2 separate regions of the Homo sapiens genome follow, and region 1 is linked to region 2. Evidence: promoter capture Hi-C in human tissues and cell types (Jung and others, 2019). All regions are on one chromosome and are shown on one strand. Each heading gives the region's core, a stretch centred on a gene start or on the middle of the fragment in contact. The rest is flanking DNA. Distances are from core to core; before and after follow the strand shown.

What was found. Contacts are between HindIII fragments. The study calls those that stand out against the background at their distance.
Region 1: a contact is called between the fragment with the promoter of HDAC6 here and the fragment with the promoter of GLOD5 in region 2, in 1 of the 25 tissues and cell types used here (adrenal gland).

What each region holds. Positions count from the first base shown.
Region 1 is chrX:48,800,684-48,803,383 of GRCh38, forward strand. It overlaps HDAC6 (histone deacetylase 6), which reads left to right and starts at 1,384. Exons shown (of 29, transcript NM_006044.4): 1 at 1,384-1,459; 2 at 1,980-2,102; 3 at 2,188-2,316; 4 at 2,445-2,533. The coding sequence starts at 2,010. RefSeq lists a cis regulatory region at 1-235 and enhancers at 1-574, 696-965, 812-1,325, 1,956-2,035. The HindIII fragment of the contact is 8,538 bases long and covers 1-2,700 here.
Region 2 is chrX:48,760,379-48,763,078 of GRCh38, forward strand. GLOD5 (glyoxalase domain containing 5) reads left to right here and starts at 1,369. Exons shown (of 4, transcript NM_001080489.3): 1 at 1,369-1,475. The coding sequence starts at 1,413. RefSeq lists a cis regulatory region at 1,121-1,863. The HindIII fragment of the contact is 11,202 bases long and covers 1-2,700 here.

The DNA of each region.
Region 1 (2,700 bases), core at 134-2,633, 40 kb after region 2:
CAATCTGTCAGTCTGATGCAGAACCCCCGGACTGCTTATCTCTCCGGTCCCAGCTTATAGCCCGGTAGGAAATGGTGGAGAATGAGACAGGGAGATTAGGAGGACAAACCGGCCTCCTGCAGAGCTGACATTTAGACATGGAGTGGGAGTTGCGGGGGAGAGGGGGTGCCTAGGGACAGCTCCCCAGACGCACACACACTTTCTATTACTGCTTGGGAGCAGTGGTTACCCGTTGGAGGGGGCAGATAGGGAGAGCTGCTGCCCATGAGAACTCCCATCCTCAAGGCCATTCTGGCCCTGGGCACTATTATTATCACAACTTTCCAGATGAGGAAACGGAGCACAGAACTGTTCAGCAACTTGCCCAAAGTCACATGGTTAAGTCCCGTAACCTCAGTTTCCTTATCTGCAAAGCAGCCTTAATAATGGGAACTACCTCATAGAATTGTGGTTTACAACGATGCCTGTCACATAATACTTGCTATCATTACCATTCCCTGCCCCCACTAAGACTCCTTCCACTCAGAATATTGCGGCAGAATATTAATAGCTAATATTCGGCCAGTGTTTCCTGTGTACCACCATAGTGAATATTAACTCGGAAAATCCTCACATTTAGCATCGTCACCACGCCTATTTTGGCCGCCACCACCAACGTCCAGTGGCAACCTCGCTCTCGGCCCAGCCACAACCAGCCCGCCCGCGCTACGTCATCACGGCGCGTCGCGCGGGAAGTCGCGGGGAAAAGGTAAGATGCCCCTTCCTAATTCCCTCGCTTCCTTGCTTGCTCTCCAGACACCGCCGACCCGAAGGGCTCCTAAGTGACTGGACAGGGACGGAGGGGCGGCGGCTATGGCATCCGGGACGACAGCGACGATAGCCGAGGCAAGAAAAAGCTTGCACCGCAGCCCTGTCGGGAACCGCCGGCGCCTGCCTTTTACGTAGGCGCAGCACAGCTGGCGTAGCACGCCGACGCACCGCCCCGTCGCCTGTGAGCTCGCGGTGTGGCTCAGCCCAGCTGGCGTAGCACGCCGACGCACCGCCCCGCCGCTTGTGAGCTCGCGAGAGGTGTGGCTCGCGCGAGGGGCGCGGCCTTGAGGCACGGTCCCCTCTGGAGGCGGGATCTGGGCGGGCAGTCGAGAGACGAGGCCCAATGGAAAAGAAAAGCCTGAGCGCTCGCGTCCCCACAGGTCGCCAGAAACTTGGTGGAGCGAGCCAAGGGCGGAGTTTGAGAAAGGGGCTGCGTCCAATGAGTGGAGCGGTGAGTACAGCGCGTCGACGGCGGAGGCGGGAAGGGGGCGGAGGCCGACCGAAGGCGGCTAGGGACTGGCTGAAGAGGGTTAGCGAAACGTTAGCGGTCGGGTCTGGGCAGGGGGTGGAGCTGGTTGAAGGAACGGGGCAGTCCCCTGAGGAGCGGGGCTGGTTGAAACGCTAGGGGCGGGATCTGGCGGAGTGGAAGGTACCGGTCCGGCCCGATAAGGGGTGGAGTTAAGTGAATCGTTAAGGGTGGAGTCGAAACCGGGGTCGGGGCCGGGGCCGGCTGAGTGAAAGGGTGGGTGATTATCCCGGGAGATAGGCCGAAAGGGCAGGTTCGTGAAGGAATGGGGTCTGGGCTGGGCTTAGAGGGTCTGGGAATGGGGCTTAGGAGAGTAGAAGGGGCGGTGATTGGTTGGAAAGGGCAGGCCCTAAGACGGACTGTGTGAGCCCGGGGGCTCATTGCTCCGTGAAAGGGCAAGACCAGGGAAAGAGAATCGTGTAAAAGGGGTGGAGTCTAGCGGGCCGGGCGGGGCCGGGTAGAATGGCCACCTGAGTGGAGGGAGAAGGCCTGAGAGAGGCGGAGTTTGGAAGGCTGTGGAGAATCAGATCGCGTAAGGAATGGAATCTAATAGAGGGGGCGGAGCCTGGAAAAGGGCAGAGAGGTGGGGTCCTCAGGGCACACTAGCCCCCTCACATACCCACGCTCCTCCCCCCACCCCCAGAACCGCGGCAGGGGCCAAGCCTCCTCAACTATGACCTCAACCGGCCAGGATTCCACCACAACCAGGCAGCGAAGAAGTAGGCAGAACCCCCAGTCGCCCCCTCAGGACTCCAGTGTCACTTCGGTGAGGCCCTAGACCCGCCCTGATGAGGGGGAGAGGGAGCAAGTTGGTCATGCCCTGGACTCTGACCCTTCTCTCTGATTCACAGAAGCGAAATATTAAAAAGGGAGCCGTTCCCCGCTCTATCCCCAATCTAGCGGAGGTAAAGAAGAAAGGCAAAATGAAGAAGCTCGGCCAAGCAATGGAAGAAGACCTAATCGTGGGACTGCAAGGGATGGTGAGCAGGGCCTGGCTGCAGTTTAGCCTCGTATGACAATCAAAACCCAAAGGTTCCCCACCCTGGACAGTTCCCTCTGACTCAGGGCCTAAAATGGATCTGTGTCTCCTTTTTTTTTTCCTCTGCAGGATCTGAACCTTGAGGCTGAAGCACTGGCTGGCACTGGCTTGGTGTTGGATGAGCAGTTAAATGAATTCCATTGCCTCTGGGATGACAGGTGAGGCTGGGTCCTCCAGGCTGTCTCCAAACCACAAAAATACACACACTTAGAGCCCATTAGCAAGAATAAATCTTTTCTTACCCCAGCCTGGATACTGGAAGCAGATGATTTGGGGAGGTAGGGCTCACACTTGAAAGGGTTCTTTTATGTAGCTAACAAACATT
Region 2 (2,700 bases), core at 119-2,618:
TGAGCCCAGGAGTTTGAGGCTGCACTGAGCCATCATGGCGCCAGTGGGCTCCAGCATGGGTGACAAAGTGAGACACTGTCTCAAAAAAAAACAAAAACAAAACAATATCCACAACACAAAGTGTTTGTGTTGGGGGTAACTAGAAACAAAAATCTCAAACTCACATGCTCCAGGGGCCAGACAAGTAACCTGTAAGGGAGATGGGGGAGTTCTGCTCAGGGTAAAGTGAACAGCAACTGGGCTGATGAATGTTCTCTGACTCTCAGCAGCGGAAGGTGAGGGTGAGTGAAGGGTGAGTGGGGAGGAGGAGGAAGACTGCAAATCTCATCCCCCAAAACTCATCCCCCAAAATAATTCAGGAACATCACACCCTGGGGCTCAGAACTTTTTTTTTTTTAAACAGAGTCTCACTCTGTCACCCAGGCTGGAGTGCAATGGCGCGATCTCGGCTCACTGCAACCTCCGCCTCCCGGGTTCAAACTATTCTCCTGCCTCAGGCTCCTGAATAGCTGGGACTACAGGTGCACACCACCATGCCTGGGTAATTTTTGTATTTTTAGTAGAGATGGAGCTTTACCATGTTGGCCAGGCTGGTCTCGAACTCCCAGCCTCAAGTAATCCGTCCACCTTGGCCTCCCAAAGTGCTGGGATTACAGGCGTGAGCCACCGTGCTTGACCAAGGGGCTCAGAACTCTTAAGAGTTCAGGGATCTTGGCTTGGAAACAGACACCTAATGGGTCAGAGCAGTCATACTCTAACTCAGATAGCTCACAACTTCATACCCCTGACACACACTCTCAAACAGCTCACAGATCTCACACTTTGGAGACATACCCCTAAGTAGACCAGAGGCATCACACGCTAGAATAAAGATCCCCTTAATACTTGGTGGTTTTTCAGTATTATTATTATTGAGATGGAGTCTTGCTCTGTCACCCAGGCTGAAATGCAATGGCGCCATCTCGGCTCACTGCAACCTCCGCCTCCCGGATTCACGCGATTCTCCTGCCTCAGCCTCCCAAGTAGCTGGGATTACAGGCGCCCGCCACCATGCCTGGCTAATGTTTTGTATTTTTAGTAAAGATAGGGTTTTGCCATGTTGTCCAGGCTGGTCTCGAAATCCTGATCTCAGGTGATCCACGTGCCTTGTCCTCCCAAAGTGCTGGGATTACAGGCATGAACCACCGCACCCAGCCTTCAGTGTTAACAAGAAGTAATCCCTTACACACATCCACTTTAAGCTTTCAATTTTGAGGCCCTGAATTTAATGTTAAAGTCCTTCCATTTGCACTACCTACCTGTGTCACCTCCCACAGTCCTCAGCCTGTGCCCTCCCATTCCTGCCCCTTGATCTCCAGGCGCTGAGCCAGAGGATTGTCGGGAGGACCCTGGGCAAAGACGCCTACCCTGCCATGCTGCGCCATCTGCCCTCCAGGCTGCCAGTCAAGATGTGGGGCAGGACTTTGGAGAAACAGGTGAACAAGATGGCCCCTGGGGATCTGGGGCAAGGGTGTTGGCACTGAAACTGGTCTAGTAACCTGTTTCCCTTCTCTGCGGGCTCCCATTTCCTGTCCTCCTCTCTCCCTTTCTCTTTCAGAGACAAGCAGAGGGCAGCAGAGGCCCATGGAAAGGCCCGGCTCTAAGCCATGGAGGGCCCTGTGCTCAGGTGTGCAGGGCTGGGCCGGGGCTGAGGGCTGGCTCCTCCCCCAGTTTAGCCAGGGACAGGTGGAGAGATACAAAGGTGGCTCACGCAGGGTGCCCCCAAAGCTGTCATGATTAAGGCCATGTGGAGAGAGGCTAGGAAACACAGCGCTGACCTTGAGCTTTAGGAGAGGAATTCAGAGGCCCCTGGCAACCTGAAGGGGACCTTGAAGAGGACCCTGTAGGAAGACAGAACACTTCCCTGTAGAGGAGGCCAAAGGAGGAAGGACATGGTGTTCCGGGCACTCTGACTATAGGGATTTTATATGCTGTGGTGAGAAATAAAATGGATTATATTTTTGTAGAGTGTGTAAAACGGGGCTTGGCACACAGTAAGCCTTGTGTGATTACTATGTCTTTTTTTTTTTTTTTTTTTGAGACCGAGGTTTGCTCTTGTCGCCCAGGGTGGAGTGCAGTGGTGCAATCTCAGGTCACTGCAACCTCTGCCTCCCAGGTTCAAGCGATTCTCCTGCCTCAGCCTCCCGAGTAGGGGATTACAGGTGCACGTCACCATGCCCAGCTAATTTTTGTATTTTTAATAGAGACAGGATTTCACCATGTAGGCCAGGCTGGTCTCAAACTCCTGACCTCATGTAATCCACCCACCTTGGCCTCCCAAAGTGCTAGGATTACAGACGTGAGCCACTGCACCCAGTCCTTTGTGTGATGACTATGTCTTGATCATCATTTTATAAAGCAGGCTTTGTAACTTCACCTCCAAGAGTCTGCAGGATCCAGACCCTGCCTTGCCCTCCCACTTATCTCTCACTCACTCTTGGGTTCTGAGCTACGCTGGCCTTCCTGTTATTGAAGACAGCCATCCCTGCTCGTCCTTGAATTTGCAAGGATGGAGCTCCGAGTCTGCAAAGCAGGATCTGGGGAGTGAATCTAAGCTGGCAGGGAAGAATAGAATAATGGGAGGAATAGGTGGAGTTTATTTCTAACAGACTATCAAAATGATGCAGATGTGGCCAAAGCAGTGCTTAGAGGAAATCTATA